Regions from separate parts of the Homo sapiens genome. Here region 2 is linked to region 1. The links are contacts of gene promoters, found by promoter capture Hi-C in blood cells and fetal thymus (Javierre and others, 2016). All regions are on one chromosome and are shown on one strand. Each heading gives the region's core, a stretch centred on a gene start or on the middle of the fragment in contact. The rest is flanking DNA. Distances are from core to core; before and after follow the strand shown.

What was found. The method cuts DNA at HindIII sites, captures the fragments that hold promoters and counts their contacts. A CHiCAGO score of 5 or more calls a contact.
Region 2: the fragment with the promoter of PON3 here is called in contact with the fragment with the promoter of DYNC1I1 in region 1 in 4 of 17 cell types (monocytes, M0 macrophages, M2 macrophages and 1 more); the score reaches 10.0 in monocytes.

Annotation. Positions count from the first base shown.
Region 1 is chr7:95,769,530-95,776,121 of GRCh38, reverse strand. It overlaps DYNC1I1 (dynein cytoplasmic 1 intermediate chain 1), which reads right to left and starts at 3,568. Exons shown (of 17, transcript NM_001135556.2): 1 at 3,349-3,568. The HindIII fragment of the contact is 2,753 bases long and covers 1,650-4,402 here.
Region 2 is chr7:95,392,251-95,398,842 of GRCh38, reverse strand. It overlaps PON3 (paraoxonase 3), which reads left to right and starts at 2,468. Exons shown (of 9, transcript NM_000940.3): 1 at 2,468-2,566; 2 at 4,129-4,199. The coding sequence starts at 2,493. It overlaps LOC107986822 (a long non-coding RNA gene), which reads right to left and starts at 2,371. Exons shown (of 2, transcript XR_007060439.1): 1 at 1,815-2,371. The HindIII fragment of the contact is 14,130 bases long and covers 1-6,592 here.

The DNA of each region.
Region 1 (6,592 bases), core at 2,319-4,818:
TCCTGGGCTCAAGTGATTGTCCTGTCTCAGCCTCCCGAGTAGCCTGGGATTACAGGCACGAGCCTCCAGCCTGGTCTCTAACTCCTGGCCTCAAGTGATTGGTCTGCCTTGGCTTCCCAAAGTGCTGAGATTACAGGTGTAAGCTACTGTGCCCAGTCAAGAGGAATAACTTTTACATGGACCTCGTCAAGGGTTTATACATTGCAAAGAAGAAAAATGAGAGTTGAATTAATTTGAGTTAACTCTCAAAACAAAAAAGTCAACTCTAGAAGTTCCTAGTTCCAGCACAGTTCCCAGGAGAATATATGTTCTCACATGCTCTAGGGGATGCAGAAGCCACAAAGATTTCTAGTAAAAGAGATCCCTGATTAAGGTAGCAACTATTTACACAGCATTTGAGATCCACAAAGTATAACAGCTACTTTCATTAAGGAGACAAAAACAATGCCATAATTTATTTTAAGGGGCCATGGGTCTACTTTGAGTGTGCATATATTATTCACAGTTACCAATCAACTGGCAAAAAGTGCGGCTATACTTGTGGCTTTAAGAAAATAACAATGGATCACACTGAAATTGGAGAGCAAACCTGAAAGATACAGACATACACTCGCTTTTTTGTCTCTCACACAGCACAATAGCCAAAATGGATGGGTCCTAGTTTTAGAGTCTTTGGAGAGATCTCATTTGAATCCTACCTCTGCCATTTATTAAATGATGTTGAGTATGTCATTTAACTCATTTAATTATTTGGAAAATATGGATAATAATGTCTACTTCATAGGATTAATATAAGAATTAAAATGAGATAAGAGAAGAGCTTGGTATTCAATATATGAAAATTAACCAGTGTAATTGTTTCATAGTACGGAAGAGAGAGGTTAAAACTCCTGGCCTGGAGTCAGGCCTTGATTCAAATGCTGCCTTGCTCAACTTAGTAGCTGAGCAAAAGTTACTTGACACCTTTGTGTCTTAGTTTCCTCATCTGTAAAACAGGATTACAAACAATATCTGCCTCATAAGATTTTTGTGATGTTTAAATAAGTTAACACCTGTGAAAGTATTTTAAAATGCAATGCCTGGTAAAGTGCTCAATATATTTTAGCTACTGTTATCAATCTTTGTTTCAAGTGTAGGGAGAATAAAGTAATGAAGGAATATATTTGTTTGAAACAGATTTTGAAACAGATGCATGTGACCTTTTCATTTGATGCTACGTTAAACAACAAAGAAACTGGAGAAAACGGTAACAGGATGAAGCCGGTGCACACTGTCTGTACTAAGAGGGGTACCTAGATTTCAGATTTGGCATGCATTTTACAAGACTGGTCTACATCGCTGTTTTTATGGACAGAGCAGCACCCAGGCTGGATCCTTGACTCAGCACTGTCATCAAAGGCAAGGCTCATTTATTAAACGTAGACTCGGGAAGGAGTATTTTTGGAAGCAGAGGGATTGGGAAGAAAGACCCTAGAGCCTTCTCTGAGATATAAAACATGGTGACTGAAATGCCAAGTGACTTCTTACTCTCTTCGAAGTTAGTCAGAAACTGAAGACCATGGACCACTACTTTAAGAACTCTGCCCCTTTTCCTGCGGGTCGAGTTTATTTTCTCTGCTCATATCCCTACTGGTGATTTACCTAAAGCTTTAACAGTAAAACAATCATGCATGTTTTCAATAGCAAAGAGGGAGGAAAGGCTGGGGGTGGGGAAGGACTGCAAGCCAGCCCCTCCTCCTCCAGGGGACTGTGCACCAGCGGCTGCAGCATCTCAGAGGTCCAAAGAAGGAGGAAGCAAGTGCATTTGTATCTGAGGCCTGAGACAAGGAAGACAAAGTAAAATGCTGAGATGCTGTGGGCCAGAAACAGGGCTAAGAGCTTGACAGGCTGGAAAAGCCTGCATTCGACCCCCAACTGTATTCTAAAAACTTCCCAAGGATGGTGCTAGAGGTTTTAAGAGGAATGGGTCTTGGAGCACTGGATCCTCAGACCTAAACAAATATTCGAGAGTTAGTTCTTATGAAGAGAACATGTGGTAACTCAGTGGCAGGTGTTTCAGATTTTATTTTATTGAGAAATATGATCAAAAGAGCTGAGTTAGGACCCCTTTTTCCACACCAAACCTTTTTGAACAAACTTGGCATTTTAAATAATTAGAGGTAGTATTACATTCTCACCAGTACCCTCAGCTTGCAAATTGCACTGAATATTCCCTTTTCAAATTTACTAACACTGATCAACGTATATCTCTATAATTTCCACAATTAAAGTATGTACACAGACTGGTTACCCATGTCTGTGTTAACATCAGGCGTTGGGTTGTCACCTGCAGTTGCCTATGCCTTACTGTTAGCTATACTTTTTGCTAATCTGGAATATTTGGAAGCAATTCTTCACAACTCTGAACTACAATAAGTCTACAATGCCCACTTGAAAGGCATTCCAAGCAAGAAAATGGCTGGCTACTTGTTCCTGCCCCTTACCTAGGATTAGTAGAGGCCAGAATAGCGAATATATTCCATCTTCTGCATGTTGTTGAGTCTCTGATCTCCTATGTAATTTCCTGTCCTGATCCTGGGCTTCTGTTTAATCTTATTAGCCAAGGTACAAGTCATGAGACTCCCGCACACTCAGTTCCCATCAGCGCTGCCAGGATCACTGCCCTTATGATGACGACGCACGGATTTATAAGGCCAGAGCGATTCCGAATGGGAGCGGGGGAAGGAGAGCCAGGCGGCCGTGAAGGTGTTTACCAAAACAACATCCCCCAGCCACACTTTTTCGCAGCAGAGAGAAACTGGCATCTTCTCGCTTTGAAGTGTTTAATTAATGCCCTGCTGGAAGTGAATTCGCTCCCTCCGACTTGCAGGGTAGTGACAGCATCTAAGAGCTTTGCAGACAGCTCGAAATGTAATCAAACAGCATCCTTTCCCCTCCCTCTGCAGCTTTCCCCCTCCTCCAGGGGCAGTCAGCCGGTGGCCCAGAGGGGTGCAGATTTCAGCGCCGCTCGCCCACTGCTCCCCCGGGGAAGACCGAGGCGGGGCGCACTGGGACGCCCTTCCCAGCCCACAAGGTGGGCGACCAGGTGGTGACACCACGACCCTTCCTTCTCTGCCCTAGTCTCTCGGCTCTGCCGAGAGGGGGGTGTCACTGGGGGGCTTTGGCCGCCTTCGGGCTCAGCGGAGCACGCAGGAGCCTGGGCAGGGGGCCAGGACAAGGGTCCGGCTGCGGCTGCAGGGGCCTCGGCTCCAGCCTGGTTCCCAGCGCAGACGACACCGGGGTGGGGAGGGTTGGGGAGAGGTGCGGAGGCGGCCGTCCGGGGAGCGGCGACATCCCGCTCCAGTTTACCTGGACGCGCTCGGCAGCGGCGGAACTGGGCTCCCCGAGCCGGCGGCGGCTCCTGGGCGGCGGCAGCGTTGGTGCAGGCGGCTCCCGAAGGTGGCGGGGCCGGCGCGGGCAGGATGTGCTGTCTCACGCTGCGCCGGCCGCTCGGCTCGCGCTCCTCCGGGAGCGATCACTTCCTCTCTCCCAGAGCCTGACACTGACAGCTCCCCGGAGCACTCAGTCTGCGGGGCTCGCCCCGCCCCCTGCCCACGCCCTCCACGCCCGCGCCCCTCCTGAGGGAGGGCCTCCGCTCCGCGTCTTCCGCGCCCGGTCTCGCCAGGAGGGGGTGGCGCCGCTCCGTAGGCTGGTGGCGAGCAGAGGACCTGGAAAGGTCAATTCGTCTATCCCTCTAACGTCGGTAGGACTTAGACCTCAGTTGCTGCAAAGAGAAGAGCTTCAATATTCTGGGAGCTCCTGCTGAAATGCCACCATTGAACAACTTTCACTCCCAGGCAACTACACTTCTTAAGGTCATTTAAATAGAAATAAAGCTCAGATCTACCTGTTGTACACAATGACTTATAGGTCTGATTGATCCCAATTTTTCTAGAAGAAAAAAGAATTAAGTGTGTGTGTCTGTGTGTGTGTGTGTGTGTGTGTGTGTGTGTGTGGTGTGGTGTGTGTGTAGCTTGTCTTCACATTGCTTCTTAAAGTCCCAGCTTTTAAAAATCTGGGTAACTGGCCAGACGCGGTGGCTCACGCCTGTAATCCAAGCACTTTGGGAGGCCGAGGAGGGCGGATCACCTGAGGTCGAGAGTTGGGGGACCAGCCTGACCAACATGAAAAAACCCCGTCTCTACTAAAAATACAAAATTAGCCGGGCGTGGTGGTGCATGCCAGTAATCCCAGCTACTCGGGAGGCTAAGGCAGGAGAATGGTTGAACCCGGGAGGCGGAGGTTGTGGTGAACCGAGATCCCGCCACTGCACTCAAAGCCTGGGCAACAAGAGCGAAACTCCGTCTCGGGGAAACAAAAAAAAATCTGGGTAACTATTATTGGACTCTGCAAAAAACAAGCTTGCCACAACAGCTAAGTTATAAGGCCAAAAAATTGAGTTTGGGATGTTAGGGGGTTTGGTATCATTTTATAGATGAGCTTTTCATCATATTTCTTGCACATCTGTGGTGTATTTTTACACATTAGAATGTAAATTAGTGGAGGGCAGGGACGCTATCTTGTTCACTGCTGTATTCTTAGTATCTAGAACAGCATTCTGATATATAATGGGTACTCAGTAAATATTTATGAACTTATTAATTCACAAGTACTACAGTAATTTCAAAATAAATACAGATTCTAGTATGAATACAGTATGAATACATACTCATCTGTAAATGGCCATCCTTATTCTAAAACTTTGGCCTCCCTGGCTAATCTACTGCGATTGTAACTATGGCTAGAAATGAAGAGGTTAAATGTCTAGGTAGAAGGTATTCAAGGTATTCCAGAAGGAAAAATCTAGGAAATAAATATTTGCCACTACCGTGACTGAATATTTAATACATGTCAATTCTACATACATTTTTCTTTAACTTTTCTATAACATTATGTAGTACATATAACGAATGCCATGCCTCCAGAAAAGGAACTTGAGTCAAAGAAGTTAACTCCCTTGCCCAAGTTCCATAACCACTGAGTGATCTAGCTGAGATTTGAATTCCCATTCATCTGCAGCTTGTACTTTAACTACTTTGTATTTTGGTCTTTCCAACATGGCATTGCTTTTGTTGTTGTTGTTGTTTTGTTTGTTTGTTTGTTTGTTTTTTGAGACAGAGTCTCCCTCTGATGCCCAGGCTGGAATGCAGTGGCACAATCTCGGCTCACTGAAACCTCCATCTCCTGGGTTCAAGCGATTCTCCTTCCTCAGCTTCCTGAGTAGCTAAGATTACAGGTGCACACCACCTAGCCCGGCTAATTTTTGTATTTTTAGTAGAGATGGCATTTCTCCATGTTGGCCAGGCTGGTCTCGAACTCCTGACCTCAAGTGATCTGCCTGCCTCAGCCTCCCAAAGTGCTGGGATTACAGGTGTGAGCCACCATGCCTGGCCTCAACATGGCATTGTTGAGTGCCCACGAAGTAGGAGCTGGGACTTAGACACTGGACCAAATTGAAGACTAGCTAAAACAGGGATGGGGCGGAGGCAGCTTTCCATAAGAGATGCTCACCAGTGTGCCATGTCAATTTACCACTGCCGTGGCAAAACCCAGGAGTTACCACTCCCTTCCATGGCAATGACCCCATGACCCAGAAGTTACTACCCTTTCCCTAAAAATTCTGCATAAACTACCCCTTGATCTACAAGTAATTAAAGTAGGTACAAATATGACTGCAAAACTACCCTGAGCTGTTACTTTCTGCCTGTGGGGTAGCCTTGCTCTGCAGGAACAGTCACAGAGCTGTAACACCATCAGAGCTGTAACACTGCCACTTCAACAAAGCTGTACTTTTCAACCCTACCACTGGCTCACCCTTAAATTCTTTCCTGGGCAAAGCCAAGAACCTTTGCGAGCTAAGCTCCAATTAATTTGGGGGCTCCCCTGTACTGCATCGCACACAACCTGCAAAGCATTGTGCTTGGAGCTTCACATGATTTAAAAAAGAGAATATAATCCCTCTTCTTGAAGGGGTTAAAATCCAGTTGGAGGTGCAAGGATAGGTAAAGGCAACATAATTAAGGACAAACAATAAGGAAATACCCAAAGCAGTACAATGGTTTGGGTGGATGAGATGGAAGGAGGAAATTAGAATTATGACAATAGATAGTATTGAAATAGGTAGGGTTTTAGAGCAGAAATGAAGAGCAGAGAACATTTTCAGGCGTAAACAAAGCTCCAAAGAAGAGAAAGAACAAAGTGTACTCAGCAAATAGTGAGTGGGCCAGCTTTTTGGATCATGACAGACTCATGGGAGAGCCAACTGGGGCCTTGAGAAGGGCTGTAGAGCAGATAATGGAGAATCATTAAAGGCCTTTGAGTAGAGAATGACACTTGGGAAGAGTCATCTGGGGCTATCTTCGGGTAGAGGATTGAACAAGCAAAAGCTTAAGAGACAAGTTTAAAGTTCATTCAAAGAATCCAGGTCAGGATTTAAAAGGCCTGAGTTTGCCAAGTTGTATTCATGACAAATAGCCTGTAATGTATGCCCACAGCAAATTAAGCCCTCAATTTCAAAGTTAGTTATAATATTATCACTTCTCAGTATTTAACC
Region 2 (6,592 bases), core at 1,219-3,718, 380 kb after region 1:
ACTACAAATGGAATTGGATCTTGAATTTAGGCCTTTTGAATTTATCTGTCCTGCTCTTTCAAAGTCAACAAACCCCTTTTACAATACTGATGTACCTGTGGCCTCTTGACCAAGTCAATTTGGCCTATTGCCAAGAGCAGATTTAGATGGTGACACTCGATACAGTGGCCTCCAAAGTTTGGAATTCTTTAATGCTAATTTACCATGCTGGGGATTTGAATTACTGATTATGGTATTCGAATAAAAACTAACCACTTCTAGGGTTTAAAGTTAATGTATACACACACACACACACACACACACACACATGCACACACACACACAGAGACTCCTCTGCCTAAAGTGAAGAATTTTTAAACAAATTATAGCTAACACAGAACTTCAATCAATTGCCCAAGAATACGCTTCTTTCTTTACCCCCTTCTTCATGCTATGCTGCAAACACAGTGATAAGGAACATGAGCTCTAGAGTCACCTGATCTGAGTCCAGATGGAGGCACTGACACTTAGTTATGTAACCTTAAGTGAATTATTACTTTACCTCTCTAAGCCTCAAAGCCTCACTTTCCTTCTTTTTAGTCCCATCAAACTTGCAGCAAGCAATTCACTTTACTTCTTTGTAGGTAAGGTTAATAAGAAGTAATGTGACAAGGCATGCAAACGCTGAGTGAAATAATAATATGACTATTATTATTTCATTATTCATTCCATTTATTTTTTATTCTTCTAATTTTTCTTTCTCCCAAGTCCATATTTTACATCCATCCATCTAATCATATTTATTGAGTCATTATTAAGCACAAAGTTCTATGGATGGCACGGGAAAACCCAGTGATCAATGCGATGGAGTCCTTCCCACAGGAGCCTACAATCTCAAGCAAAGTTCAGAATTAATTAGTGGTTAATCTTTACTGACTTCATAAAACGTATCAAGCACAGTGCAGAGCACTTGACACTCATTATCACATTTAATTTTAAGCTACCTATGAGGTGGACGTTCTTTTACAGAAGAGGAATCTGTAGCTCAATAAAGCTGAGTACTTTATCTAGGCTGGATCCAAACCCAGGCAGCCTGACTCCCAAACCCTGCATGCATGTCTACATCACACCCCAGGCCCCTCAGCTCTGTGAGCCCTCCTGACTTCGATTCCTCCTCTGCTTGCACTCTTTTAACATTAGTCATCTTAACAAGAACTCTAATCTATACAATTCAAGACGTTACACTGTCCTTTTAATACAACCCTTCTTCCATAGATTTTCTAGAGGCAGCATGGTAGAGGCAGCTCAGTTAAGGGCCCAGATTTTGGAGTCTGCTGCTTGACAGCTGCCTGACCTACAGCAAGCCACATAAGCAATCTGTGCTGCAGGTCTCACCTGTAAAATTGGGGTAAGGCTACCCACACTCCAGAGATTGTGTTGATAATTAAATGCGTTAACATAGGTGTCAGCACAGGCAAAGCACACAGTCAGTACTGCATAAGCGGTGGGCTTCATTATTCATCCTGTAATTACGTATTCATACTAGAATCATGTATCCCATAGGTCAGGGACCACCTTTTCTTTCCTTAATACCCCCAGGATTGGCAAATCTTGCTCTCTCAACAAATAGTTTACTCGGTGGAACCTAACAGAACTAATATTTCTTTCTGTCCGTAAATAAAAATAGATCATGCTTGAATGTGCTACTTTGCCCGAACTCCCCAAGTCTTCCCGCATCTTCAGTTCCTCCCCCTCCAACCTGGTGTTCATCAGGAGAGGGGAAAGAGCATTTCTTGCCTGGCAGGAACTCAAGACCTAGAAGAAAGAGGGCCTACCCTGCCAAGGAAATGACCTTCCCCTTCCTCGCCTCTGCTCCTCTTCCCGTTTCCTGTCTTTTCCTTCTTTTCTCCTGGTGTTTCCTTCTCCCGTTAACTATGGGGACAGACGCAGCTATTCACAAGTCCGTCTGGGCAGCACACTCCGAGGTAAGGCACGAAGGTCAGGAGACAGGTTCCCGTGCCCCAAATCCTGGAGAAGATGAGTTAAAGCTCTTCGCTTCGATTGCCTTCGCCCTTCCCGCGTCTCGGGAGCAATTCAGTGTCGCCTCACGTCTGGCCTTGCAGAAGTCCGGAGTTCCGGCTCTGAACTGGAGCTCCCCGCCATTCCCGGGCCCTCCGGTTTCTCCCTCAGGCCATCTGAGGAATTGAGGTAGGATTTCGCGGGTGTTAGGAGCAAACTCCCACCACAACTCGGTCCCGGGCTCCCTCTCCGTTGAGCCTTGACCTCTGCCCAAAAAACAAGGAATCGTGGGCGTGAAGGCGGCCTTGAACCCGGGCGGCGGGGCTCGGCGGGACTCGTCAGCGCCCTGCTGCGGCACCCGGGCCGCTCAGGTAAGTAGGAGGCGTGTGCGGGCGGGGCCGAGCGGGCCCCAATCCGTACGCGAGGCAGGAACCGCCCGCCGCGCCCCCGAGAGCTCTCGGCGCCGCGCAGTCGCCGCTGGGCACCCCGAGACCATGGGGAAGCTCGTGGCGCTGGTCCTGCTGGGGGTCGGCCTGTCCTTAGTCGGGGAGATGTTCCTGGCGTTTAGGTGAGTGGCATCTTGACAGGGCGTCTTCGACTCTCTTTCTCTCCTCTTCCAAGTGAGGTCAGGGGCTGCCTGGCGCCCCCTTCCTAGCGGGTAGGAAAGAGCAGCTTTGGAACCTCACTCCTCCATCTCACCCAGCAAACCGCCCCTTGAGACTCGCTTATGGGGAAAGTGAGCTACTTGCGTTTCCAAAGACTGCCGAGCCGAATTAGTCCCATTTATTTTTTGAAGGTTATGATCCCCCACTTTGCTTTCTGAAGGTCATGACCCCCTTTTACTTTCTGAACGTGATGACCCCTTTCCCAGCTCGCCCTCAACATTCTGCTTGGGAAAAAAGGACGTCCATTGGAAACGCCGGACTTGGGAGAGAGGATCAGGCTACCAGTTGGATGTTTACGGCTGACTGAGACATTGCCCAGGTCTGGCTAACCATGCAGAAGTACTGGGTTATGGAACCTATCCTAGATTTAAAGAGCTGGCCAGACAGCAGGGCAAACCAGCTGAAACCTGCAGGCGGTAACTGGCATTTTGTAGGCATTTGACCTTTTGAAGTGGAAGATACAATGGTGATAGCCAGCCTAGAAATGTCTCAGGAAAAGTCAATACTGGGCTAGAAAGAAGAACCTTTAAGTGATAATACACATTCATGAGTGGATCGAAAGCCTCTGCTTGCTTTCAGTTGTCTTTGAGTGTTTATGTATTTCTCTTAGTTGAAGCTGGTCTTCTTAGAGGATCACGTCTAGAATCTGTTGAGGTGCCTGGTGCCTATTAGTAATACTTCCAGTTTGAGAGTTTTATTGTTACATTTGCTCCCAGTGCAACCACATGGAGAATCATAAAATAATAGTAATAATAATAAAGTAGATCTAAGGGTATTTTTTTAAATAAATGACTGTAAGATAAGTATTGAGTCTTTCTGAATATACTTTAATAAAAATTTTAAATTATCCCTGATATTAGAAGAATGTGGAAACATTCCTTTTCACTCTGGAAACAAGAAAATTGTGTTGAAAAATAAATCGGCCAATTGTTTAAATTGTGGTTGGTTTAATGAATTTACATACTTGCGGAGTAAGTCAGCATAAAATTTAAAAATTAAAGCAAAAGTGATAGAGTTTGACTATTAGGAGACCCTGTTGAATTTTGGGAAAGCAGTTTGGAAGGAAAAGTTCAAAGGGCAAGACTGTAGGGGATTAAGTGCAGATTTATAACAGACGATACTTTAGAAAATTAGGGCTATTTCGTGCATTTAAATTAATAATATTGTTCAATTACTCATACTATTAAATAGTGTCTTTTATTTGGGCAGCAGAATTTTCCATGTTGAATCATATTATACAGTTTTTCAGCAATAACTGGGTAAGGTTAGCTGATATAGGTAAAATACCCACATAATGTCTACATTATGTAAATAAACATGAAAGGAAGTACCTACTTACTTGTTATGTCATTCATAAATTATGATAAAGATAGTTAACCAACACGAAGATGATTGAAGTCCACATTTAAACATACATTTTGAATGCTGTGCCTTGACTTCCAGGGTTGGGTTTTATCTTCTACAGAGAAAGGGTGAATGCCTCTCGAGAAGTGGAGCCAGTAGAACCTGAAAACTGCCACCTTATTGAGGAACTTGGTATGTATGTGACAGTACCAAGAGGAGCCAGCACAGCTTCTTGGTCGTCATCCACCTGACTGAGCCCTACCAGCTCATTTAATTACCTGTCACTACTTAAGCCCTCCCAGTGGGACATCTGCCCCGTCCACTCTGCCCCATGCAAGGTCTTCAGGGGTGTACTAAATGACATTCTTTGTGGGTTTTTCTCAGCACATTTCCTTACTGACATCTCTCCACATTACCTAAAGAATGTCATTGACCACTCCCTGGTTTTCCCCTCACTGAATGCTTCTCCTTTCCCATCTGTGGTATTTCACTCTCCTCCTTGTCCTCTGTTACCTTTCCTTTTTTTGCTTCTTTCTTCTTTCCTTCCTCCCTCCCTTTCCTTATTGTCATTCCTGGCTTCAAGTGTTATTTTTTTTCAAATAATATGACTCAGCCCCTCCCCTCAAGAACCTCACAGCAGGCTGGGCGCAGTGGCTCACACCTGTAATCCCAGCACTTGGGAGGCCGAGGGGGGCGGATCATGAGGTCAGGAGATCGAGACCATCCTGGCCAACATGGTGAAACCCCATCTCTACTAAAAATATAACAATTAGCCGGGCATGTTGGCGGCGTGTGCCTGTAATCCCAGCTACTCGGAAGGCTGAGGCAGGAGAATCACTTGAACCAGGGAGTCATCGGAGGTTGCAGTGAGCTGAGATCGCGCCACTGTACTCCAGCCTGGCGACAGAGCGAGACTTTGTCTTAAAAAAAATAATAAACGAAGGAACCTCACAGCCTACCTACCTTCTTTTAAAAAAATTCATAAAAAATCCATGGCCCAGTCCCTAACCTTTCAAACTGCAGCCCTTCTTTTTTAGTCAGTTAAAGGGCAGCTCCAGCTCAAACTCTCCCTAAGCTGAAATCTATTTTACATTTCTGTCGTTTTCTCCCTCATCCTCCCACCCACAACCAGCTCTGCTTCTAGACTTTTCCTATGTATGGTACCCCCATTCTCAAAAGATTCAGTTCAAAATCCAGGAACCATTGTTCCCCGCTTGTCCCTCATGCTTCTACGTGAGACATGGGCTAATCTCACCTACTAGTTAATGCCACACCTGCTTATTTGGGCTCCACAGCTCCAATTCTTCCTGACATTGCTAACAGAAAAATAAAATAAAATCAGGCTAGATTGTGTTCCCTGTTCTGGGAATATGTTCTTTCACCTTCTCACCTTTGCTTATGAAATTCCCTCCAAACTTACTGATTCCTCTGTCTCTGCTTACTAAAATCAGCTGCAAAATTCATCTCCTTCCTCTGAACTCTCACAGCACTCTGAAGCTCCGATTCACTTATGACACCTGCCACATGCCTTGTATTATAGCTAGCAGTGTTCTCTCTTTCACTATCAGATTGTAAACTCCCTAGGGCCAAGAACTGTGACTTATTTATTAGAATGTGATGAGATAGCTTATTTTGGGATATGATTTTCTATTTTATTGCTATATTTAAAAATACAGAAAAAGTACCCTTTTGATTTGAGTTTTCTGCCTTTTCTTGCCTCTCAATTTCTAAAAAATAAAGTAATCTGAACCTTGCACTCCCTAGTCTTAGAGGTGGTTTGTGCTAGCAGCTGGAAAGCAGAAGAAACCAAAGAAAACGCCTTTCCTGAATTGTTTTTAAAAACCTGAGCCCCTTCAAGGGATTCTGTTGGAGAAGGGATATGAATATGTGGATATCTTTGAATAATGGGGATCCTTACCCCACTGGCTGACAGCATTCTGGGAGAGGAGCAGGACCTCAGAAGGAATGGTTGCAAGGTATCTTTAGGGACGCTGGACCCTGTGTTCCAGCTAAGGTAAAGACCTTGTGTCAATGCATTACATGGAAGTAGCAGAATTGTCTAAATTAAAGGGACCAGTAACTTTGGCAATGAATAATTCGATGATACGTAGTGTAGAATGAATGCCAGATGGCCTTTCCAAAACATTCTGCTTAGGTTTAGAACCCACCACTTAAAATGATTTCATAACCCTAACAGACAAACCCAGTAATGACTCAGATTGGATTTTCCATCAACTTAGTGGAATAGGATATCAGAGTGATTTAATTTGATTTTAAAAATAAGGAAATGTGACATTTACTCATTTGTTTACTGTTTTGTGGTGTAGTAGTATTCATATTCACTATACAAATAACTGTCAAAATATATAAGCCTGCAAATAATCAAGAGGTATAATTAGACTAGATGATTGGTAGGGTCTAGTCTGACTCGAATTGTATCACTCAACTAGATTTGAGAAGGTAAAATTACAGTTAATATTGTGAGTCTTAGGTCAATGTTCTGATTTGCCAAATATTTTGAAGAAAATGGCTTAAATAGTTGGAAGCAGGCTGGGAGCAGAAGAAAGAAATGCCATGTTACTTCT